Regions from separate parts of the Homo sapiens genome. Here region 2 is linked to region 1. The links are contacts of gene promoters, found by promoter capture Hi-C in blood cells and fetal thymus (Javierre and others, 2016). All regions are on one chromosome and are shown on one strand. The core of a region is centred on a gene start or on the middle of the fragment in contact, and the rest is flanking DNA. Distances in the headings are between cores, read along the strand shown. Region 1 holds the start of TDRD1 (tudor domain containing 1). Region 2 overlaps LOC101927692 (a long non-coding RNA gene).

Evidence for each region. The method cuts DNA at HindIII sites, captures the fragments that hold promoters and counts their contacts. A CHiCAGO score of 5 or more calls a contact.
Region 2: a fragment that was not itself captured here is called in contact with the fragment with the promoter of TDRD1 in region 1 in 2 of 17 cell types (naive CD8 T cells and total CD8 T cells); the score reaches 7.0 in naive CD8 T cells.

Annotation. Positions count from the first base shown.
Region 1 is chr10:114,175,919-114,182,135 of GRCh38, forward strand. TDRD1 (tudor domain containing 1) reads left to right here and starts at 3,435. Exons shown (of 25, transcript NM_001395205.1): 1 at 3,435-3,498. The HindIII fragment of the contact is 8,256 bases long and covers 2,977-6,217 here.
Region 2 is chr10:114,768,914-114,775,130 of GRCh38, forward strand. All of the region lies in intron 1 of LOC101927692 (a long non-coding RNA gene), which reads left to right. It also overlaps a transcript of ABLIM1 not described here. Among named protein-coding and RNA genes, the nearest start is that of FHIP2A, 50 kb to the right of the region's middle. The HindIII fragment of the contact is 1,693 bases long and covers 1,414-3,106 here.

The sequences.
Region 1 (6,217 bases), core at 2,185-4,684:
CATCCTACCTTTCCTGTTGCAAACTGAATGTCAATCAAATAGTCAATGTGGGGAAGCTCTTCTCTGTAGAACTCCATGTAATAATTGCAGAAAGAAAGATAGATGATCACCATTTTGCAAACCCTGATGAAATAATGGATCTAGGTAATGGTCATCTGTGAATCTAGAACCATTAGATGAAAAACTGATAGGAAGCTTCGTATTGTAATGGATGGATGGGGCTGGCACCACTTGAACCTACTAGATCAATCTTAATATCCTCCAAAGTGAAACAACTACATACTATGTATTTTCTGAAATGCTACAATAGAGAAGCACAACACCACCTGTGAAGTATTCCTGCCGGGGGATGCAATCAACAAAATTGAATGGAAAAAAAAAAAAACCCTGCAGTTACTGTAATAAATAAATTGCAAGAGAAGTACAGGATTTAAAGAGAAACCCCTTTTTAAAATATATCACTGAGTGCAAATACAGGATGTTTTGATACTGATTTGAACATATCAACGATTTAAGATAACATCTGAATGGCTGGGTGTGGTGGCTCACACCTGTAATCCCAGCCCTTTGGGAGGCCAAGGTGGGCTGCTTGAGCTCAGGAGTTTGAGACCAGCCTGGACAACACAGTGGGATCCCATCTCTAAAAAGAAAATTAAAAAATAACATTTGAGGTATCTGGAAATGTTTAGTATTAATTTTATGATATTAAGAAATTATGGCCAGGCACTATGGCTCACACTTGTAATCCCAGCTACTGAGGCAGGGTGATGGCTTGAGTCCAGCAGTTCAGGACTGCAGTGAACTATGACTGTGCCACTGCACTCTAGTCTGGGCGGCAGAGCAAGACCCTTTCAGAAAGAAAGGAAAGGAGAGGAAAGGAGAAAAAGGAGAAAAGAAAGGAAAGCAAGAGAAATTATTGTTTTTAAAGTTGGGATATGTTTTGGTGATATTACTTAAAAAGTGGTAATCTCTTAAAGACACCTACTTACAATATTTTTGGATGAAAAGATACAATATCCCAGAAAGTAATAAAGTGCTTAACAAACAAAATACCACCTGATGATAGTATGTGAAGGAACAGAAACCAACTGAAAGAGCTTCCTGTGGCCAAAGCTGGAAAAATCTGAGCAAGGAAATACAGTAGTTTTGGATTAGAAAAGTATAAAATAAGAAAAAAAAAGTATAAAATAAATATCCGAGTCCGTTATTAAATTAGTAAATGGAGAAGAGACAAATCTCCCATGCAGAAGAATTTCAAATAATTTCTGCAGATACTGCATCCTCAAAGAGGGACAACATAACTCCCTACTCCTTAAATGTGGGCTTCAAATAATAGCTTCCTTCCAAAGTGTATAGTATGAAAAGGGAAGGGAAAAAAAAGAATATAGTAGAAAGACCCAACAAACACTACCACAGCCAGATGACCAAATCCTACATCAATTGTCATAATCATATTCATAGGATGTATGCTTGATATGATGCAATAAAAATGGCATTTTTACCTCTGTGGTCTTCCTTCCAATAACCCGTAACTCCTTTCCTACCAGCAGAAAAACATCAGACAAATTCCAAAAGTAGGGCATCCTACAAAAGGCCTGAGAGTACTCCTGGAAACTTGACATCAAGGTCATCAAAACAAAGTCTAAGGAAGTCCCATGGCCAAGAAGAGCCTAAGGATCCATGAAAACTAAATGTAATATGATATCCTGATGAGATCTTGCATCAGAAAAGGGACAGTAGGTAAAAACGAAGGAAATCAAAAAGATGGGCTTTAGTTAATACTGTATCAATGTTGGTTCCTTGGTTCCTTAATTATAACAAATGTATCATGCTAACAGACCATGCTAATAATAGGGGAAACGATGTGGCTTCTGTCAGAACTCTGTACAGCACCTTCTTTTCTTTCTTTCTTTTTCTTTTTTTTTTTTTTTTTGAGACAGTCTTGCTCTGTTGCCCAGGCTGGAGTGCAGTGGCAGTGATCTTGGCTCGGTGAAACCTCCGCCTCCTGGGTGCAGGCGATTCTCCTGCCTTAGTTTCCCAAGTAGCTGGGATTACAGGCGCCTGCCACCACACCCAGCTAATTTTTTTTTATTTTTTTATTTTAAGTAGAGACGGGGTTTCACCATGTTGGCCAGGCTGGTCTCGAACTCCAGACCTCAAGTGATCTGCCTGCCTCGGCCTCCCAAAGTGCTGGGATTACAGGCATGAGCCCCCACGCCCAGTCAGCACTTTCATTTCACTATTCTGTAAATCTGAAACTGCTCTAAAAAATAAATTTAAAAGACACATCAACTAAAGAAAAAAAATCAGGCTTTTAAAGAATTGAAGTTAGTGAAGTTAGTTTTATTCAGAGTCTTACTGAGGACTGCAACCAGGGAGAGCCCAGAGAATTTCTGTTAAACTACTCCAAAGCAGTGGGTCAGCACACTTTAAATATTAGGTGGTAGAGGTTCTGCCCAGGGGTTACATTAAAAGTGCCCAGAAGCTATATAAGATCAAAATATTTTCAAAGTTTGGGTGCGAGAGTAAGTCTAGGCATCATCATTAATCTTGTCCGTTAGGTACAGAAAAAGGCAAGGCCTAGATCTCTGAAAGTATCTTTTCTAAAAATGCAGTGACTCTGAGAGGTGGGAACCTGAGTTCTCTCCGCAGTCTTCAAGGCATTCTTCTGGAGGGCTGAGATGTTACTAAGTCAAGGGGTCTGAAATGCTGACAAACACAGTGAACAAACGTGGCTTTTTCACAGTGAGGGAGGACTATGCTGGGGGCCAGAAGCAGACGTTCGCTACTTTGTCTCACATTTACAATTCTCGGATTTGCTTCAAAACATTGCCCGAAGAGTGCCTGGGCTGCAGATGTAGACAAGATTAACCATGAATTGATAAGGTAGAAACTAGATGATAGGCACACAAGGGTTCCCTTATGAAATTGTTAGAAAAGTTCCATAGCAAAAAAAAAAAAAAACAAAACTTAAAAAGCTTGTCTTTAAGTAACACCAACAGGTATAATCACATGCCCTCAGTCAGGAAGCAAAGAAAAAAAGTATGAGCACGTGTGTGTTTACTTTCCAAGACCAGGCAGAGGCTGTTGATTATTTGGAAAACCTTGGAAGACCTTTAAGTGGCCACGGTGACCCAAGTGACCTTCGAGGAGACAAAGTCTGCATCTTTGCGCCCAAATTTGCCAAAGGCGTTGCCAGAGACATCTTTCTAGAAGAAGCTAGAACAAAATAAAAGTTTCTGCAAAGGAACTTTTTGAGCCTGTAACTAGAGCACAAGCTGCTTCCGGGGAAGGCGGAGGGAACACGTGGGCACATTGAGTTGCACGTGGACGCGGAGTGCGCAGGCGTGCGCTGAGGCCAGGAGGGCGCACTGGGGATTGGAGGCGAGGGAAGTGCAGGGCGCATCCCAGGCGGCAGGGCTCCCAGCATCGGCAGTCGCCATCACCGCCAGACCGCAGAGACAGGTTCGGATCCGCGGTCCTCTTGCCTCTTTCCAGGTCAGGGTTCCCAGGCGTATAGGGGAGGGAGAGGGCCTGCATGAAGGGGAAGGGAGGGGGCTTCGGTCGTTGGGGGCCAGACGTTGGGCGCTGGACGTTGAGGTTGGGCGTTGAGCGGGTACAAGGGGCCTGGAAGTGGAGAGAGGAGACTTGGAACCTTGCTGCGAGGGTTTGGTGTGGGAGGATTCTCTGAGTTTGGAAATAGCGCTTCCAGGCATCACTCCTTCAAATGCAAACGTTCACCTTCTCTCTAAGAGAAACTTGCATGTGGATTCAGTGCCTTCGTTTGACTAAAAATTACGATACAAACAATATTAACATTTACTAGACTTTTTTTTCCCTACTTTCCTCCTATAGGAAAGGAAGATGTGCTAGGGCATTTACTTAGATGTGGGTCAGCTGGCGCTAGTTTGTTTAAGGAGTTCCTGCTGTGTGCCAGTAGCTTTTCCGGGCCCTAGGGTCCTTGCTATAAATACGTTAGCCCTGCTGGGCTTCTGAACTAAGGGAGCTAAATGCTTCCAGCTTCCTTAGTGAGGCAGCACGGTGCTGTATGCTTAAATCCAAGGCCGTGGAGTCTGACCTGCGTTTTTATCTAAACTGTGTAAGGTGCTGGCCCTGGGTGGTTTGGTAAGTTATTCCAACTTCCCACGTCTCCCTTGTTTATCTGTAGGAATAACGAAATAAAAATACTTTAGTCCTCAAATTATTTTCATCTTAAGCCTGCAAGCTGGTTCCACAGGAATGGAAGAAATTTTGTGCTTGTAGGAGTGGTATAAAAGTAAAGCAGAAATAATAGCTGCCCTTTAAGCCCTTAGGAAGTACTAGCCACTGTGCTAAGTGATTTACTTCGTCTCTCATTTAATTCTCGTGATTAGGATTTGTGAGGAAGTTAACTACTGCCCTCTGCATTTTACAGTCGCTGAATCCTAGAAAGATGAAGTGATTTGCCCAAGATAGCGTGGCTAAATGAGGAAGACGAGACTTACCTGGCTGACTTAAGAGCTCATGCTTTACCGAAGCGTTGCGTTTTGTCTGTTTAAAACCGGAGTGTTTTTGTTTGTTCTTTGAGTAAGAGTTTCACTCTTGTTGCCCAGGCTGGAGTGCAATGGCGCGATCCCAGCTCACTGCAACCTCCGCCTCCCGGGTTCAAGCGATTCTCCAGCCTCAGCCTTCCTAGTAGCTGGGATTACAGGCCAGCCACCGGCGCCCTGCTAATTTTTGTATTTTTAGTAGAGACAGGGTTTCACCATGTTGGCCAGGCTGGTCTCCAACTCCTCACCTCAGGTGATCCGCCCACCTCGGCCTCCAAAGTGCTGGGATTACAGGCGTGAGCCACAGCGCCCAGCCAAAACCGGAGTGTTTTCTTTGAGTAGAATGGTTCTTGCAGAATACATGGGGTTGCCAGGAAGACAAAAGCAAACATCAGAGAAGGAAAAAAATGACAGCTGAGTATCTGTGCATACACTTTTGTTGTTAAAAGAACTCCAGCCTGTGGTATCCTAGAGGGAGAAGAAATGACTTACCCCACTATTCATAGTGTATCTTAGGAAGCCCCCAGCAACATCAGGGAGAACCGATAGGATTCCAAAGAAAAGAGAGGGTCTACCCTTAGGGAGCTTCAGGACTTAATGGGTTCAAAGCGTGAAGTACAGAACAAAGAAATCCAGAAAGCTGAGCCCTCATTTTTGCCTGTAGAACTATAGAAATGAGTCACTTTCAGTCCACTACTCTTCTAGTACATCAGTGATTCCTAATTCTGAGAAAATGAGGTACTCTTTAACGTAGAGAAATGTTGAGACCCTTCTAGTTAACCTTTTATGTTAGCTGAATCAACATTTAATTACTGTGGATTCCAGAATGATTAAATATATTTCTATTTATCACTAGTAGCATGAAAAAATAGTAGATTGTATATAGGGGGAATTATTTTAAAACTGGGTGAGGTTAGCCGATGTGGCTTCAGGGCCTGTGCAGCAATAATCTGTCACATTTGTTTACCTGGGTATCAAGTCTAAAGCCTGAGGTTGGGAATCACAGTATTATGCCATAGGGCCTGCCTACTTGTGATTCAGATATTCCCAGTGGTTGATACAGGATGAACCAAGTAGGAATAGATGCTAAGTCTTACTGGTGTTTTGTAATGTTAAAAATTCACGGCCCAGTGCGGTGGCTCACACCTGTAATTCCAGCGCTTCGGGAGGCTGAGGCGGGCGGATCACCTGAGGTTAGGAGTTTGAGACCAGTCTGGTGAAACCCCGTCTCTACTAAAAATACAAAAATTAGCCGGGCGTGATGGGGCATGCCTGTAGTCCCAGCTACTTGGGAGGCTGGGGCAGGAGAATTGTTTGAACCCAGGATGCAGAGGTTGCAGTGAGCCGGAGATCATGCCGCTGCACTCCATTCTGGGCGATGGAGCGAGACAACATCTCAAAAAAAAAAAAAAAAATTCACCCTTAAAAGCCTATTCTGTATCCCAGTTGTGGTGGCTGCCTAAATCTATGCCTGCGTTACATTCATAGAACTGTAAATCAAAGAAATCAAAGTCCATGTAATGGTATGATAATTACATATTTAAAAATAAATTCCAAAAGGTTTTAGGTGACTGAACGTTTTATCTGGATTCACAGTAGTACTGGCCACCTGCTCCAAAAGTTAATGCATAAATGGTAGTGTTCAAACTCAGGGACATCCTGACTTTCCTGTTGACGGGCTGCCAACC
Region 2 (6,217 bases), core at 1,010-3,509, 590 kb after region 1:
TTTATCAACTAGCGCTTGATGCTAATAAGCAACATAATAAAAAGCCACCAGATCTAGAAATTCTAACTAAAAAGGTGGGATTCCACTCTCACGCCCTGTCCTCTCTTCCTCTGTGCACTCTCAAAACAGATGTTCTATGGCCGGGTGTGGTGGCTCACTCATGTAATCCCAGCACTTTGGGAGGCTGAGGTGGACGGATCACTTGAGGTCAGGAGTTCAAAACCAGCTTGGCCAACATGGTGAAACACTGTCTTCAATGAAAAAAAAAAAAAAAAAAAAAAAAGCAAATTAGCAGGCCTTGGTGACCGGTGCTTGTAATCCCAGCTACTCGGGAGGTTGAGGTATGAGAATCGCTTGAGGTGGAGGATGCAGTGAGCCGAGATCACGGCACTGCACTCCAGCCTGGGTGACAGAGCAAGACTCCATCGAGATAAGAAAGAAAGAAAAAGAAAGAAAGAGAGAAAGAGACAGACAAGAAAGAAAGAAAAGAAAGAAAGAAAGAAAAGAAGGAAAGAAAGAAAGAAAGAAAGAAAGAAAGAAAGAAAGAAAGAAAGAAAGAAAGAAAGAGAAAGAAAGAAAGGGAAGGAAGAGAGAGAAGGAAGGAAGGGAAGGAGAAAAGAAAGGAAGGAAGGAAGAAAGAAAGAGAAGGGAAGAAAGAAAGAAAGAAAAGAAAGAGATGTTCTAGTTGTTTTCTATGTTGGCACTGCCCAAATCCATCCTGATGTGATGGGAATTGTATGGAATTGTATAATAGTTCTGACAATTCAGAAATATTAAAAAATAGGTGAACGTAATTCTTTCAGAAAAAATAATTGATGGATAATTGAGCATTGTTGAAAAAAACCCAACCAAATGATCATGTGGGAAAGGAAATACTAGAAAAAAGATTTGTAATGGGAATAGAAATTCTCAGATTCAAATGCCAACTACAAAAATCAACTCATTATTTATCCATCTTGACAACATCCCTTTCACTGTCTTTTAGGCAGAAAACTTGCCAGTGAATCACAATTCAGTTGCTTCAATCTCAAAACAACTCTCCTCTCCCACTATCCTCATTCCACTCTTAACCTTTCTCACCTAAAGCATGATCACAGGAATAGCCTGGTTGCCCTGCCTACATTCAGCCTCCAGCCTCCACTGCCTCCCTACCACCCACCCCCCAGGTTTATTTTGCCCATTACCTTGAGAATAATTTTTCTATTTATAACATGACTAGTTCATGTTCTACTATGAGGTTATTAGTGGGTCCTCACTGATCTCCAGATACAGACTGAACATTTCAAACTGTCTTCATCCAAGCAATTAATTCATCCAGCAAAATTTTATTGAACACATATTATGTACCAGTCTCTAGGGTAGATACTAGGGTTACAATGGTGAACAAGATAGACATGATCTATGCCCACACAAAGCTTAGAGTCCACTGAAATTTTAAGGTCCTTCATAATCTGTGCTTTCCTACCTTGCCAGTGCCATCTCTAGCTACTCCCTACTCAAACATTTTACTGTAGACAGACTATTTTTCCCTCTGTTTCTCAACAAGATAATATGTTTCCTGTCTCCCTGCCTTTACTCATTCTCATTTTTCTTCCCCAGTGTCCTCCTCCCCACCCAAGTTAACTCATATAACATCTTATGAAAGGTTCTCCTTCTACCTTAACCCACAGTGATCTCGTTCAATCAACTTCTGTGGCATTTACTTTCAGAATCACCTGTTTTTACTTAACACACTGCTTTCTGCTGCTGTTTAATGGTTTTGTTGTAAGTCTTTTCTATCTCCCCAAATCTCCTTGAAATCAGGGACTTGGCCAGTCTTGTCGAATTGAATTTGTTCTGGAAGTATACAGAACATATGTTATATCAGATATCATACTAGTAAGATAGAGAGGTCCCAGAACTGTGTGCCTTCTTTTTAATATTTATTTATTTATTTGAGACAGAGTCTCGCTCTATCACCCAGGTTGGAGTGCAGTGACACCTCTTGGCTTACTGCAACCTCCACCTCCCGTGCTCAAGTGATTCTCATGCCTCAGCCTCCTGAGTAGCTGGGATCACAGGCACGTGCCACCACACCTGGCTAATTTTTGTATTTTTAGTAGAGACGGGGTTTTACCATGTTGGCCAGGCTGGTCTCGAACTCCAGGCCTCAGGCAAACTGCCCGCCTCGGCTTCCCACAGTGCTGGGATTACAGGCATGAGCCACCGCACCCGGCCTATTCTTTTAAGTAATATCTAGTCTTTTTCTCTAACTGCCACAATAGTTCTGGTTCTTATAACCTCATAGCAGAATTACAGATACAGTGGCAAATTCCTAATAATGAACAGATCTTACTCTTGTCCTTAAGATGCTTGTAATAGACTACACAGATGATTATAAAATTCACTCCTAGATGTAAGTCTCAAATAAGGCACCTTTCCCAATACTGTTAGGCACATAGCAAGTACTCCGTGCCTGCCTGACTGGCAGGTTGCAAAATGGTAAGTTTGCTATCAAAGGTCATCTTTAGCTAAAAAGAGGTTTCCCTATGTATTTAGCTTTAGTCTTCTTCAGGTTAAGTATATATTTTAAAATATATGTGATTTTCTTACATTTTGGAGTTGTGATATATGGAAATGACATTTTAGGGCCACTCACATCATCTCAGAATCTCTTTCTATAATCTCAGAAATCTGAAACCAATTCTTCCAATCATACAGCAACCAAGTTTGTTAATGGCTTGAATCTCCTAACAAATGTCTCATCTGAAATAACTGAGAATACTTTAGAAATCATTGTAAAAGCAAATTGTAAAGTGCAAGGAATTTTAGGAGACATAGTAAATGCCACTTTTTAAAGTCAGGAAATAAAGTACAATCTATTGGTTGAAACCAGAGGAAAAATTTATATAGACCAAAGGGATGAAACACATTCCAGTCTGTGTTTGAAAAAAAGAGGTTCCTATTTGACTCTTGCCAAAAATGCTCTTTTAATTTCTAATGGAAGGAAAGGTAATGTACATTATTAACATTTTTTCTTTATTGATTTTTTAAATAATTGAATATTGAGTCTTACTCCCACAGCTTTTCAGCTGCCAACTCATCATCACTTCTCATTCTGAACCTAAGCTTCTCATGAGTAGCATGAGAATAATTCTTCTTTCTGCATAACTTCAAGCTTAAAGGCACACTGAACTACTCAATGGTTTTTAATCAAATACCTTTATAATACCTACTATGTAATAGGCAATGAGGAAGTCCTGGCAAACAAGTTAGAAAAGCAGTATACAAGGTGGAGAAGCTAAGCCTGAGAGTCTTCATTAAGCCAGGCCACTAAAGGGGGATAAAATGACCTCAGATTAGTCATATCCCTGGCTCCCGAGAGAAGCAAACTAAAATTCTTTTTAAATACTTCTTTTTTAGTAAAAGCATCCAACAGTGGCTCATGCCTGTAATCCCAGCACTATGGGAGGCCAAGGTGGAAGAATCATGTGAGCCCAGGAGTTTGAGACCAGCCTGGACAACATGGCAAAACCCTAACTCTACCAAAAAAAAAAAATTTAAATTAGCCAGGTGTGGTGGCTTGTGCCTGTAGTCCCAGCTATTTGGGAGTCTGAGGTGGGAGGATCACTGGAGCCCAGGAGATTGAGGCTGCGGTGAGCTATGATTGCATCACTGCACTCCAGCCTGGGTGACAGAGTGAGACCCTGTCTCAAAAAAACACAAAAACCTTCATCAGTGTAGACCCCAAGGATTCCACAAATAAAGATCAAGCAAACATGAGGTCATAATAAAAGATGCCAAAATACACAGGAAAAGAAGCCATGCTGAGTGAGAGTCAGCAGAAACAACAAATAGATACTAAGTAGTTTGGGTATTATAATTCCCAGATAATACATATAAAACAAGAGATAAAATATATATAAAGTAACAAAAAAATAACAAAAGATACACATCACAAAACTAAGCCAACACCAGACTATCAAAAATGACCAAGTAAATTTCAAAAAGAACCAAATAGAAATAACAACTATCAACTATAGAAATTTTAAAACTCATTGGATAGATAAAACAGACAAACAGAACCAAAGATTTAGTGAATTGGAAAGTAGATATTAAAAAGCCACTAGAAATACAGCTCCAAAATATTGGGAGATGAATAATGCAAAATAGAGGTTAAGATATATTGACAATAGGATAAGAAGATCTAATTTATAAATAATAGGAGTCCTAAGAAACAATTTTAAAATGGAGAAAAGACTACATTTGAAGGAAAAACAACTAAGAATATTATAAAATACATATATCAATAAAGGAAATACAATATATACCAGGTTGGATGAATAAAAAGAAATCTAGACCTAGACACACTGATATTGAAACTGAACAACACTAAAAACAAAGATAAGATCTAAAAAGCAGTCAAAGAGAAAGGACATAGCCTAGGAACAAAACAGATTGATAACAGACTCAAGGGAAAGGATAAAAGCCATGAGACAACAGAATTCTGATTAGCCTATAATTGTTCATTTAAAATTTCACGAATAGGCCAGGCGCGGTGGCTCATGTCTGTAATCTCAGCACTTTGGGAGGCCAAGGTGGGTGGATCACTTGAGGTCAGGAGTTCAAAACCAGCCCAGCCAACACGGTGAAACCCTGTCTCTACTAAAAATTTAAAAATTAGCTGGACATGGTGGTGCATGCCTGTAATCCCAGCTACTCAGGAGGCTGAGGCAGGAGAATAGCTTGAACTCAGAAGGCGGAGGATGCAGTGAGCTGAGATTGCGCCACTGCACTCCAGCCTGGGCTACAGAGAGAGACTCCGTCTCAAAAACAAACAAACAAAACAAAAAAATTGCATGAACAGCAAAAATATCTTTCAAAAATGAGGGCAAGATAGATATTTTAAGACAGATATTGAGTGTACCACTAATAAAATTTCTGTATCATTTATATATAAATATATATGTAAATATATAAATATATTTATGTAGAGTAAAATGACCACCATTAAAAAGTATGAGATAGAAGCAAGAATGAGGAAAAAAGAAATTTGTTTACATAGAAATAAATCCAACTAAATATCAATACATTTGAAATGAAGAACTAGGATAAAATGTGGTTCTTTGAAAAGAATTAACAAAATGAATGACCTTTAGTGAAACTAAGAAAAAAAAGAAAGAATAAATAAAGAGTATTAGAAAGACACCCTTAACTACAGTTAGAAGAGAGATTTAAATGAGATTATAAACTGGAATTCTGCTTTTGGCCATGATGAAGTAATAATTAGACTTGTCTTCCCAAATCAAACAACAAAACTGAAAAAAATACATGAAACAACTATTTTTAGTTATTGGACAACAGGCAGCCCAGGACAGTGGTTCTTGAGAAAACAGAAGCAAATAAAGTGAGTCCTATGAATGCCATGGCTTCTGACTAGAGGAAACTCCCAGGCTACAGGTGGAGGGAGGAGAAACCCAGACAGAGCTCAGTGGTCTCACTGAGTTTAGGAGAAAACAAGCATGGTCCCGAGAGGCCATGGTGGATGGAAGTTGTGGGATAAGTGCCCAGAGGAAACTATGTGGAGAAAGAGCTACAGGAATCTACAGAAGAGTGTTCTTGAGACCTTACTGATTCCTAAGCTGCACATATACCGGGTGAAGTTCCACGAGGATAGGTAAAATGAACAAATATTTGAAAGCTGCCCATTGGTAGGGCTCCTACAACTGAGAAAAAAGTTGGACTGAAAAACAAGAGACAGAGTTAAACAGAGTAATAAGTAATCTAGTCCAAAGCCAGGGCAGAATGTGAAACTTGGAAGGACCTCTAACCTAGACATGAGGGCTAGGGGCAGCATTTGGTAGAGCAGAGCAGAGATGTTAAATATTTTAGATGTAGGCTCTGTCATAAAGGAAATCAGTACAAGGGAACCAAGGCGGAGATAAGAATGAATTCTAGTCCCTAGCAGAAGCCAGGGGAAAAAAAGTACTAGATGTCCAAAGATGCCCATGCCAGGAACTAGTTTCCTGAAACAAAACAAAAAACACAGGTGTATTGTCCGTTCTCACACTGCTATAACGATACTACCTGAGTCTGGGTAGTTTATAAAGGAAACAGGTTTAATTGACTCACATTTTGGATGACTGGGGAGGCCTCAGGAGACTTACAATCATGGAGGAAGGTGAAGAGGAAGCAAAGACCCTCTTCACATGGTGGCAGGAGAGGGAAAAATGCAAGC